Linked DNA regions of Homo sapiens: region 1 is linked to region 2. The links are contacts of gene promoters, found by promoter capture Hi-C in blood cells and fetal thymus (Javierre and others, 2016). All regions are on one chromosome and are shown on one strand. Each heading gives the region's core, a stretch centred on a gene start or on the middle of the fragment in contact. The rest is flanking DNA. Distances are from core to core; before and after follow the strand shown. Region 1 holds the start of SLC30A2 (solute carrier family 30 member 2). Region 2 holds the start of CNKSR1 (connector enhancer of kinase suppressor of Ras 1).

Region 1 (6,495 bases), core at 1,898-4,397, 130 kb before region 2:
GTTCACTCCATCATGTCACAGATGGGGAAACTGAGGCCTCTGAACAAAGACCCCGAAAGAGACACCCATTGTCTCTAACTGAGACCAATTTCAGACTTGGGTTCTGCCCCTAGGGACAGCTACTCCTGCAACAACTGGCCTCTTCCCGCCCCACTTCAGGTATGAAGCCACCAAGGCTAGTCCCTGACATGTATCAGGGAGTGGGTAGAGTGGATGAAGACTCCGATTTACAGCTCCCAGTGTTCTTGGCCTAGGCCTAAGGTAGGACCCAGGTGTTCCAGGTGCCAGAGCTCAGACCATTAGGGAAGTTCTGTCCCTGTAGCGTATGCTGGAAAGTGGCACAGTCTCTTTCCGCAAAGCAGACATAGGTGTGGGTGTGAGAGGCGGGAGGAGGAGGGGAGACGAGGGAAACTGGGGCCCCACTCACATGATGTTCACAGCCACAGCGCAGCCCGACGTGATCAGCATGGTCCCCCCGTCAATTTCATAGTCCCCAGAGATCAGCCGCTCCACAGCCAGGTACACCAGTACCCCCGTCACGACCCAGATGGACAGTACAGAGACCAGGGCTCCCAAGATCTCTGAGGAAGAACCCAACCCCAACACCCACCTTGGCATGGGCCTGGAGCTAAGGAGTCTTCCCCCTTCCTTCAGGATCCTCCCCACCCACCTCCCACACAAAGTCAGGGCCTGGGTCCCACTGGGCTCTGCTGAAGGTATGGCCGGTATGGCTGCCCCTTACCCCACCCCTCATATATCTAGGAATGTAAGAGCTAGAAGGAACTAATAAGTCATCATCTGAGTCCACCTTTTTGGTTGTACATGTAAAGAAGCTGACTTATTAAAGTATGTGCCTTTTGTTCAGCTAGTAAACTGAGGCTTCTGGGGAAGACAGGCTGGGCCATCTCCCACAAAGAGGAAGGTGACGATGCAGTCCAGGGTGAACGGAAGAGAGGTTAAAGCCTATATCTTCCAGCAGCCTTTGCTGGCCTTCCCCTCCCCCCAGAGCTGATCCACAGAGTTATGTGCAGTGTTAATGCCATTGTCATTTGTTCTTGAAGCTTGGCTACTGCACTTCTTAGGAAGGTCAACTTTGCTTCCCTGCAGACTGAGAGCTCCTGGATGACTGGGACCAGGGCTCCCCCATCAGACTAGGATTTCCCAGAGGACAGAGGCCATGGTTGACATCCTCTTCCCCCATCCAGATCACCCTCCTGGCCTCACTCAGGGGAGGAAGGGGGGATCCACCCATTACAGCCACCTAAGAACCCCTGTTCTAACCCACCCTCTCTCTCAACCCCATCTCCAGCCAAACCGCGATCCTCACCAGCTCTCTGCCAGCCAAAGTTCATGGTCTTGGTGGCTGGCCGGGAGGACATCCAGAGGGAGAAGAGGCTGATGAGCATGCTGGCAAAGTCAGTGAGCAGGTGTGCTGCGTCAGTCATGACAGCCAAGCTGTGTGCCAGGTACCCACCTGCAGGGTGGAGGGTCCTTATCAGCTCCCCCAGAGAGCTGGCTCCCAAGACTGTGTGTGCAGCAGGGAGACCACAGGCTCTGGAAGAGGACATTCTGGGCTCAAGATCTCTCTACCCATGAGCTGTACCACCGTGACAAGTGACCTACTCTCTCTGAGCCTCAACTTCCACTCTCTGTGAAATGGGCCACCAATATCTACTTAGAGGGTGAATGTGCACATCAAGTTCAAATAGGGACTGGAAAACATAGCAGATACTCAGTAAATGCTCTTCCCTTCTAGGAATTCAGGCCTTCCCTTAGCTACGAGTTGTGCGTGATCTTTGGCAAGTTACTTCACCTGAACATGCCTCAGTTTCATCATCTGTAAAGTAAGGAGAATAACGTCACCCATGTGAGAACACAGGTTGTTGTTAGACCTGCATCAGATAATGTGTATATAAAGGCTTACTGTAGTGTGTGTTCAGTAATTGGGGCTTTTAGTGTCAGTATTGCTGGGAACATCCAGTCTATCCATGCACCAACTTCATTTAATTAGCCCAAAAGTGCTTACCAACGACTTCTCCGATCATGAACAACAGGCAGATGGCAGAGGCTACATACAGCTGGCGCTGGGCCTTCCCCTTCTTGGGGTCACAGTGACTGTCAGGACCCTTCTGAGCATGGCAGTGATGGTTGCTCTGGGCAGCCAGCTCAATGGCCTGCAAGTCCAGGCCAGGTCGGGGCAGAGGAATCCAGCCAGCCCCTTCCTGCCACAGAGATCCCGTGTATGACCTGGCCAGAGGGGAAGAGAGGGAACGCTCAGCTCTGAGATGAGGTAAGGAGGGCCGACTCTAGTCCCATTTCTCTGTGAGGCCTTGTGTCCACTGGGAAAAATAGCTAAGGACGCTCCGAGCTCGACAAACCAGAGGTGAGAAGCCTGTATTCAGACGGGGATGATAGGGGAATGGGAGTCCTGGGGCCCGGGGCCCTTCAGAGGCCAGAGGAGGTGAAGACCCTGGGAACCGGCCAAGGGGCGTGCTGTCCAGTGGAGCGCGGGGAAGGAACAGAGCGCAGGCTCTGGGAGAACAGCAGGCCCCCTCCAGCGCACTTGGGACACAGGGCCTCCCCGGGGCGGGGCTGCCTGGGGCAAAGTGCTGGGCGGGGCGGGACTCCAGGCATGGGAACCGCCAATCCCCCGGCCCCAGGCCCCCCGCGGGCAGGGGTCAGAATCTGGGCTGCGCCCCAAGGGAGAGACGGTCCTTGGGCCACAGCCCATTATCTTCGTTCCCTCACCTCACCCCACCCCTCCTGCATGGTCCCAGCTCAAGCCGCAGCCAAAACCAACCACTGCTAGGATGGCAAATGCGGAGGTGCGTCGGCTGCCGCCAAAATTCCCGCCCGTCCCCAGGCTCTCGCCTTACCGGATTGCCGGCCTGGCGTCCAACAGATGCTGCTTCTCCTTGGCCTCCATGCAGTCCCGCGCCGAGTCCCGGCAGCCGCGCAGCCGCCCCGCCGAGTGCGCCCTGAAAGTTGCGCGCGGGACTCCGGGTGGCGCTCACCCACCTGCCCCGAGGGCCCCGCGAGGTGCGCTCACTCCGGCCCGGCTCCTGCGGCCCCTGAGCTCCCCCGGCTCCCGCTGCGGCTGCAGCTCCGGCTCTGGCTCCGCGTGCCAAGCGCTCCCGTGTCTCGGGTCAGCCGCTGCGCCCCGCGGCCGCCGGCTTTATCCGGCCCTCGCCAACCCGTGTGAAGCTGCCGTCGGCGCGTCGTGTGCAAAAGCCCGCGGGGAAGGGGGGGCGGTCGCCGGCTGCAAAAGGCCCGGCTGTGGCCCCGCACACCTGTGCCTGCGCCCATGGGGCCCGCGGAGCCCACCTGCCGGCCGCGAGAAGTTTGCCAGCCTTCGCCCGGCGCGGCGCCGGGTGTTGCTGAGTGAGGACGGGGTGACGCCTGCGCCCCCTCTCCCGCGCGGGGTGCGCCGCCTCGCCGCCGAAAAGTTCTCGACTTTAGTTTGTAGAAATCCGCTTTGGTGGTCCCGACGGCAGGAATGTGGCTCCTTGCCTCGGAAGAGGGTCTCCAGAGGCTACTGGGGCCGCGTCTGCCCCCTCCGACTGGCGGCTGCCCTGGGCTTGATCATGTTCCCCTCTCAGGCCGGAGACCCCCCGAGGTCGGCTTGCGTTCCTGTCCTCCTGCTAGGAGGGTCCTGGGGTGGGGTGGGCTGCGCCGCCCTCAGGCTGGGGCAGTGTCTCTCCCTAGGACCGGCTGGGACTGATCGACCCATCCTCGCCACTGAAGCAGCGCCAGCTCCTCCTCTCCTGCGCGCAGGAGAATCTGGAGTGGCCGGCTTTGTCTCCACCCGCACAGAGAACAGTGTCATCGGCAGTCACCATCGGAGCAGAGACGACCACTGCCACTGCTGCCACCCCTTCTCCCCTCCCCCGCAGCGGCTCCTGGGAGCCCCAGGAAGCCTGACAAGCAAGCCTGGGAGATGCAGGCCGGAGGTGCCACCGTGTTGGTACCGCTGGGAGAAGCCCTGTCCTTCCTGGCCAGCTTGGTGCCCCACCCACTTGAAGCAGCCTCCTTCCCTGGCGGTTCTTGGGGATTGGGGAGCCTGTGGCCCCCACGCTGGCCTCTGACAGGTGCCCTCTGTGTAGAAAGAAGCTGCTGGAGACCTCCCTGTCTGGTCAATTCGTCTCCCCAGCACCCTTTGTCGCTAGGACCATAGGCTTGGTGGGTATGGCCTTTCACAGAGCCAAGAGTCAGAGGTGCAGGCCTCTTGCCCACACCACTGGGGACAGGAAGGGGCTCTTTCAGTCTCTCATCTTGTAGGAGACGGGGTGCCAGGAGTGAGGATGTGAGGTGCACCCGCTCTGCTTGGGTCCTCACTGAGTGCCTCTCTGCTTCTCTGGACTCTGGTTTTCTTCTGGAAAACCTCAGACACCCTGGTTTTCTCCAGGTCTGTCTACTCTGAGCACCAGCAGGCTCAGCATTACCTGGAGAAGGTGTTACAACGCAGGTTACAGGTCCCTGCATCAGACCAACCGAACCAGAATCTCTGGGTGTGGAGCCTGAATATTTCCAGGATTCAGTAGGTCTGGGGCAGGGCCTGGGAATCTGTATTTATAAAATTCTCTGGTGCTATTGTGGCATCATTGTTCATTTTTATGTATAGTGGTTTTTTTGTTTGTTTGTTTTTGAGACAGAGTTTCATTTCTGTCTCTGTCGCCCAGGCTCGACTGCAATCTCAGCTCACTGCAATCTCTGCTTCCCGGATTCAAGTGATTCTCCTGCCTCAGCTTCCTGAGTAGCTGGGATTACAGGTGCCCACGACCATGCCAAGCTAATTTTTGTATTTTTAGTACAGACAGGGTTTCACCATGTTGGCCAGGCTGGTCCTGAGGTTATGATTTTTTTCAAAGAACACCTTTATCTAAAGTATTTAGGGATAAAATGTCATCTGGGTTTTGCCTTAAAATAATCCCAGTGGGGAGAGTACGGTACTGGTATAGAAGAAATAAATATGTCACCAGCTGTTGAAACTGAGTGATGGGTAAATGGGGTACACTATAACTATTCCCTCTACTTTTCAGTATTTAAAAAATGTTGGCTGGGTGCGGCGGCTCACGCCTATAATCCCAGCACTTTGGGAGGCTGAGGCAGGCGGATCACCTGAGGTCAAGAGTTCGAGACCAGCCTGGTCAACATGGCAAAACCTCGTCTCTACTAAAAATAAGAAAATTAGCCAGGCATGGTGGCAGGCGCCTGTAATCCCAGCTACTCAGAATTCTGAGGCAGGAGAATCACTTGAACCCGGGAGGTAGAGGTTGCAGTGAGCCGAGATCATGCCATTGCACTCCAGCGTGGGCAATCAAGAGTGAAACTCTGTCTAAAAAAAAAAAAAAAAAAAGTTTCAGAATTAAAGACTTGGGGAAAAATAAACCTTTCCTGGCAATTCTGATGTAGCAGCCCATGGAGCTGTATTCAAGATTCATTGAAAGAACCCCCTTGAAGCCAGCTGTCCTCTCTTGCAGCATGATTTTAAAGGAAGCATGTTGATCAAGAACCCTTCATACCATCTTAAGGGTTCTAGTTTGCAAGTACAGGAAGAGCCCTTCCTATGGCAAAGGAAAGATCCCCTTAGTTGCAATTAACAGGTATCTTCCTGGAATTTAATCTTTAACTGATTACCCAAAGTCTCAACTGCTCTCTCTTCTCTTCCATAAGTGACAAGATACGGGGCTGAAATGCTTGCTGCTTACATGATCAGTAGCCTGGAGAAGTAACAGAACATACACACGTTATAATACTGATTCTTGTGATTTCAAGGTGATGAAAACCTCTCTCTTTCTGGCCTCAAATTTCTCCTTCTGGACTCAAATCCCTTCAGTTTTCTATGGGAGGATACTTTAGGAGACCAAACCATAAAGAAAAACAAGTATGTGATTGTCAAAAAAACAAAAAAATTGACCGCTCCTCTTTCCGCTGCCCCAATCAGAAAGAGGAGCTGTGATGTGGTAGAGGGGCACATGGAGGGCTTCTGAGGGCTGGCAATGTTCTTTTTTTTTTTTCACCTGAGTGGTAGTAACATAAGGTTTCATTTTACAATAGGTTATTAAACTCTACGATGAGTTTTGTGCACTTTTAAGGGTGTGTGTGTGTGTATTACACCGTGTTTTAAAAACTAAAACAAAATGCTTCAGAACTTGAGAAAGGACTGGAAATGAGAGCAAAATCTGATTCTTTGAAATTCAAAGTTAGGAACTGAGTTAGCCTTAGAAAACCTACCAAACTCCCAGAAGTGAAAATGGGCAGAGGTTGTGAGGGTTTTTGAGCACTGTCCTAAAGCAAGTTCCACATAACTCTAGTTCCGGAGGATGTCATATGAATAAGTTGGGAAATTCAGTCCACACACACAAAATGAAAGACTTAGGGTCAGGCAGCATTCCAAGCACCATGAACTTGATGGTCCTCATCTAAAGTTAATTCGCTTTCTTTACGGTGGGACGACTCGGACCCCTTAATTTGCTACTGTGATCTGAATGTCTA
Region 2 (6,519 bases), core at 2,776-5,275:
ACAAAATGAAACCCTTTAAAATAGAAGTTGTCAGCCGGGCGTGGTGGTTTACGCCTGTAATCCCAGCACTTTGAGAGGCCGAGGCAAGGAGATCACTTGAGGTCAGGAGTTTGAGACCAGCCTGGTCAACATGGTGAAACCCCATCTCTACTAAAAATACAAAATTAGCCGAGCATGGTGGCACACGCCTGTAATCCCAGCTACTTGGGAGGCAGAGGCAGGAGAATAGCTTGAACCTGGGAGGCGGAGGTTGCAGTGAGCCAAGATCATGCCATTGCACTCCAGCCTGGGCAACAAGAGCAAAGCTCTGTCTCAAAAAAATAGATAAAAATAAATAGAAGCTGCCACTTACTGTGTTCCTAACTGCCTAACCCTGGCAGATGCTGGGAGCGTAGAGTAAAGGCGCCGTGGTTCAGGGAGAGAGGGGGCTGGTTCTCACCTCTGGTGGCAGCTCAGGAAAGATATTTGATGAAATCAAGATCTGTCTACCGAACACTGATAAAGGCTCTATTAGAATTTACTGGACTTCCCCAGAGTGCCACAGGGAGGCTGCTGCATGAAGAGGCAAAAATGTTAAACGAGGATGCAGCACGGAGTGTTCAAGGGACACAGACCTGAGGCAAAAGACAAAGCTGGAGACGGGCATTTTGCAAATTTGAAGCCAACTGGCTCACAAAATGAAAGAGGCTGTTAATACCAAGTGTGAAGGTGGGATGGCATCACCAGAGCTGGCCAAGTTCAGAGAAGCTGGAAATCTCAATTTGGATGTGACGTTATTAAATGATGACAACACACGTACACTACATGGGCCAACCATGGGCGAAATTCAGACTTTGGGTCTCTGGGTTACAGGTAAGGTCGTGACAGGCTTTGATGACTGGGGGTGCTGCAGAAATTCTGAAGTAGGTGACAACAGGTAGCTCCTCCCCACAGAATTAAAGCAATAATAACTCATATCTACCCCATGATACAGATTTCAAAGTACTTAATGTCATCACAGTGCTAAGGCCTAGGAATCCCCTTCTGGAGACAAAGAAACAGATTCAGAGAGCTGTAGAAGTTGGGCTGAGTCACATAGCAGTTGAGTATGGAACTGATTTTATCTGATTTTTTTTTTTTTTGAGACAGAGTTTTGCTCTTGTTGCCCAGGTTGGAGTGCAGTGGCGCAATCTCGGCTCACTGCAACCTCTGCTTCCGGGTTCAAGCAATTCTCCTGTCTCAGCCTTCCGAGTTGCTGGGATTATAGGCGCCCGCCACCACGACCGGCTAATTTTTTGGATTTTTAGTACAGACAGGGCTTCTCTATGTTGGCCAGGCTGATCTCGAACTCCTGACCTCAGATGATCCACCCGCCTTGGCCTCCCAAAGTGCTGGGATTACAGGCATGAGCCACCGCGCCCGGCCTTTTTTTTTTTGAGGTGGAGTTTCACTTTTGTTGCCCAGGCTGGAGTGCAATGACGCGATCTCAGCTCACCGCTACCTCTACCTCATGAGTTCAAGCAATTCTCCTGCCTCAGCCTCCCGAGTACCTGGGATTACAGGCATGTGCCACCACACCCGGCTAATTTTGTATTTTTAGTAGAGATGGGGTTGCTCCATGTTGGTCAGGCTGGTCTCGAACTCCTGACCTCAGGTGATCCGCCCGCATAGGTCTCCTGAAGTGCTGGGATTACAGGCCTGAGCCACCACGCCCGGCTGATTTTATCTGATTCTAAAGTCCTGGGAGTCCCCTGACCTGATGATGATGATGAAAATGAACATTTACTATGTGTCAGATATTTTTCTAAGATTAAAGCTCTTGCTCTGAGGTTCAGAATTCAGGGGATCCATAAACTTGGATGGGAAAAAATTATATTTTTATTTTTGCTAAACTCTAACCAAAATTTATGATTTCCTTCTATATGGATTGAAGCAGTAGCAGTATCTTTGGCTTAGTCACCAATAGAAATCACATATTTTCATATCAAATTGTAGTTATTGCAAGTATCTCAAAATATTTATGCTCAAGTGATTTCAAAATCACAGTGGTTGTTAAACCACCACTAAATTGTTCGTGAGCAACTTCTGTTTCAGATGCTCCTGTGATGTAGCCGCCATTAATTGGTTACCTCCAGGCTTAGCAGTGGTTCAGTGACCAAAGGGCGAATCTGCCTGTTCTGAGTAGGGCTTCTCCACTCTTCTGCATTCCCTGTCTTTTTTTTTTTTTTTTTGAGACGAAGTCTTGCTCTGTCGCCCAGGCTAGAGTGCAGTGGCGCGAACTCGGCTCACTGCAAGCTCTGCCTCCTGGGTTCACGCCATTCTCCTGCCTCAGCCTCCTGAGTAGCTGGGACTACAGGCGCCCGCCACCATGCCTGGCTAATTTTTTGTATTTTTAGTAGAGACGGGGTTTCACCATGTTAGCCAGGATGGTCTCGATCTCCTGACCTCATAATCCGCCCGTCTCGATTATAGGCGTGAGCCACCATGCCCGGCCCAGCATTCCCTGTTTTTAGTTGTTTGCTGATCAATATGTAAGAGGAGGGGCGTCAAAGACCACCCCACAGTTTAATGTCCTTATTCAAGCTGGTCGACAACACACTGAGGTCATTAAAAAAGAAAAATTTAACTTTCGGCCAGTCTTATTAATGTTAGTAAACACATAATATAAATTTCTGGTTTTATTTTTTTGAGATGGGCTCCTGCTATGTTGCCCAGGGTGGCTTTGACTCCTGGGCTTGAGTGATACTCCCCCGCTCAACCTCTCAACCTCTCGAGTAGCTGGGACTACAGTCGTGTGCCAGCACTCCCCAGCTCCAAATTTTTTTTTTGTTTTTTGTGGGTTTTTTTTTTGAGACGGAGTCTTGCTTTGTTGCCAGGCTGGAGTGCAGAGGCGTGATCTCAGCTCACTGCAACCTCCGCCTCCCAGGTTCAAGCGATTCTCCTGCCTCAGCCTCCTGAGTAGCTGTGACTACAGGCGTGCACCACCACACCCAGCTAATTTTTGTATTTTTAGTAGAGACGGGGTTTCACCATGTTGGGCAGGCTGGTTTCCATCTCTTAACCTCATGATCCACCCGCCTTGGCCTTCCAAAGTGCTGGAATTACAGGCGTGAACCACCATGCCCGGCCAAATTTGTTTTTAAATATAGTTTTGATAATTGTTCTCATTGTAATCCTAAGCATTTTGTTTTGTGCATTTATTTATTTATTTATAATACAGAGTTTTGCTCTGTTGCCCAGGCTGGAGTGCAGTGGCACGATCTTGGCTCACTGGAACCTCCCCCTCCTGGGTTCAAGGGATTCTCCTGCCTCAGCCTCCTGAGTAGCTGGGATTACAAGCACCCACTACGCCCAGCTAATTTTTTGTATTTTTAGTAGAGATGGTGTTTCACCATATTGGCCAGGCTGGTCTTGAACTCCTGATCTCAAGTGATCCGCCCACCTCGGCCTCCCAAAGTGCTGGGATTACAGGCGTGAGCCACCGCGCCCGGCCTGTTTTATGCCTTTATAAGCAGCTATTCTGAGAAAGCATTCACAGGCCTCACCAGATGCCAGAGTCCATACTGCAAAATCCAAGGGAGGCTAAACACCCCAGTTCTAAATGTTTTCAAGCCATTCAGATACTGTGCACAGCTGCCCTTTGAAGTACGGTCTATTATATCTCTTTTACAGACCCAGAAACTGAGGCGCAGAAGTTAGGGTCAGCCCCAGGTCACACAGCTAACAAGAGCTGGCCTAGGCACCCAGGGACCTGGCCCCCTAGCCTCTGTGCTTTGCTACTGATTTCAGCGCTCCTCTTGTGGCTTTTTCTTGAGGAGCCCAAGGGTCAGGGTCCCACCCCGCGATATGAGGCCAGTGGCACTGCCCCCTAGCAGGCGCGAGATGCCAGAGCCCTAGGATGTCTGAAGGGCCGGGCAGGAGGCGGACGGGCGTGGGCCAATGGCTGTCGCAGTGCCTCATCTTGCCGTCTGTGTGAGCCCAGGTATGCAGTAGGCTCCGCCCAGGACCCAGCCCGGCCCCTCCTTAGGCCTGGGCTCTGGGAGCGGAAATTCCGGCGACAGCAGGGCAAAACAGGAGCTGATTCGAGCTGGCAGAGCTGGGCCATGGAACCGGTAGAGACCTGGACCCCCGGAAAGGTGGCAACTTGGCTGAGAGGTGGGTGGGGCTGGGGTAGAGTTGGGCTTGAAGGGGACTAGGTGTGGTGTCCCACCGGGAAGCGGGAGGAGAGGAAAAGGAAAAAAAATCTGCGGACTGGGTGCGCTGGTTCACACCTGTAATCCCAGCACTTTGGGAAGCCAAGGTGGGTGGGTCACCTGAGGTCGGGAGTTCAAGACCAGCATGGTGAAACCCCGTCTCTACTAAAAATACAAAAATTATCTGGGGGTGGTGGCAGGTGCCTGTAATCCCAGCTACTTGGGAGGCTGAGGCAGGAGAATCGCTTGAACCCAGGAGGCAGAGGTTACAGTGAGCCGAGATTGCACCGCTGCACTCCAGTCTGGACGACAGAGCGAGATTCAGCTCAAAAGAAAAAAAAAAATAATAAACTGCGGGCTCTATCAGTCGGTCAGTCAGTCAACAAATATTTACAGAGCACCTAACATGTTCCAGGAACCGTGCTGGGCAGAGAGACAGATGAGATGACCCTGGGGGGCCCAAGGACCCAGAAGGGGGCCCCTCATCATGGCAGTAGCCCAAGAGGCCTCTAGGGTGATAATGGGGAGGCGGTGTCATGAAAACAGGAGGGAGGCCTGACAGGCCCACACCCACTGTATCTCCTTCATCTTCCCTGGCCCCAGGGCCAGTGGGCTGTTGTTAAATCCGTTTCTTAGAGTCAGAAACTGACACACAGAGCCAGGAAATGATTTGCTCAGTCTCTGGTGTCATTTTCCCCGCTCCACACCCTGAGCTCCTAGTGACAGAAGCAGAAGCCCTAGGCCAGACTGAAGAGGTTGACACAGCCCCACCCTGGGGCTCCTATCCAAGGGGCAAGGTGCTGTCCAGGCTCAGCGAGCCCACACAGATGGGAAGCAACACACCCCACAGGCAGACTCAGAGAAGGAAGGGCCTCCTGACACACAGTGCGACCAGGAGCAGGCAGTCAGGACACCCCTCCCAGAGTGGGGAGCTGGAGCGCACTAGAGACAGGCTCAGGAGGACCAGCCCGGGTAAGGGCAGGAATTCAGGGCTGGGTTCAGACTCCCAGGCTGGATTCCAGGCCCACCCCCACCGCTTGCCAGCTCTGTGACCATAGGTCTTAGTTTTTCTGTCCATCAAATGGGAAAGGCAACTCTGACCTTATGAAGTCGACAAAGTGAGACAATCATGACATAGTTCATTTGTAGCTCAATGCCTGGGTCTATTGGGAGGGCACCAGCCCAATACAGTCACCGTGCAGGAAGGAGGTGGCTCAGGGGCCCATAGCCAGGGAGTGATAGGTTCATGAACTCCCAGTCCAGTGCTCTCAATGTGACACAGGGAACACACACACACACCTCCCCCAGTGAAGGAGCCTGGCTTAGAAGGGGAAGAATTCCTTCGAAGAGTGAGCAAGCTACTTAACCTCTGTGTCAGTTTTCCCATCTGTAAGCAGGATAATGATAGTCTTTACCTCCTAGAAATGCAGTGAGAATCAAATGTGTTAATATGTGTAAAGCTCTTATAGATTTGCATAGCACATAGTAAGCCCTCAATAGACACTTTTCTTATTTTTCAGTGCCTACCTTGTCCAGGCACAGGCCGGGGGTTAGAGACAAATGGTTATCTAAGGCCTGATCTTTGAAGAGCCTGTGATAAAATGGGAAAGACCGATGGTCAAGTGCAGGGGTTTGTGGAGGCTCAGGGGCAGTGGGAACAAGAGGAGAGCCCTCCATCCCACTCAGCCTGGGAAGTTATGGAAGGCTTCCTGGAGGAAGTTAGATGAAAAAGGAAGTGAAGGAGATAGAAGAGCAACGCCAGCAGGAGGAATAGCACTTGCAAGGACGCTGAGGTAAAAGGGTGTTCCAGGAGCTGCAAGGAATTAGCTCTGTGCATCTGAAATGTTGAGTTTAGGGGGCTCTTCAGGATATGATGCTGGAAAGGGAGGTAGTAGCCTAATCATACAGGGCCTGTAGGTCATGGTAAAGTCTGGCAATAATAATATGATGGCTATTATTGGCTGTCTCCCACGAACCAGACAGTGGCCAAGGCCTTGACATATGTTGTGTCATTCAATACACACATGATTAGAAGGTAGGTACTTTTATTATTCTCACATTACAGGTGAGAAAACTGGGCACAGAGCAGTGCTATTACTTGCTCAAGTGTTCACAGTGTCTCAGTGACTCCATAGCCTCTTGTTCTTATCCCCTGTATCATTAGTTCTCAAACTTAAGGGAGCATCACAGTCACCTGCATTAAAATACAAACTGCTGGCTGGGCGTCGTGGCTCACACCTGTAATTCTAGCACTTTCAGAGACTGAGGCAGTCAAATTGCTTGAGCCCAGGAGTTCGAGACTAGCCTGGGCAACATGGTGAAATCCCACCTCTGCAAAAAATACAAA

What was found. Contacts are between HindIII fragments. The CHiCAGO score rates a contact against its expected background, and 5 or more counts as called.
Region 1: a contact is called between the fragment with the promoter of SLC30A2 here and the fragment with the promoter of CNKSR1 in region 2, in 6 of 17 cell types (M2 macrophages, M1 macrophages, erythroblasts and 3 more). The highest score is 9.3, in M2 macrophages.

Annotation. Positions count from the first base shown.
Region 1 is chr1:26,042,971-26,049,465 of GRCh38, forward strand. It overlaps SLC30A2 (solute carrier family 30 member 2), which reads right to left and starts at 3,148. Exons shown (of 8, transcript NM_001004434.3): 1 at 2,877-3,148; 2 at 2,027-2,247; 3 at 1,328-1,474; 4 at 428-581. The coding sequence starts at 2,926. It overlaps LOC105376910 (a long non-coding RNA gene), which reads left to right and starts at 5,288. Exons shown (of 2, transcript XR_001737948.2): 1 at 5,288-6,495. RefSeq lists an enhancer at 2,179-2,747. The HindIII fragment of the contact is 10,541 bases long and covers 1,060-6,495 here.
Region 2 is chr1:26,173,466-26,179,984 of GRCh38, forward strand. CNKSR1 (connector enhancer of kinase suppressor of Ras 1) reads left to right here and starts at 4,026. Exons shown (of 21, transcript NM_006314.3): 1 at 4,026-4,134. The coding sequence starts at 4,083. The HindIII fragment of the contact is 21,071 bases long and covers 1-6,519 here.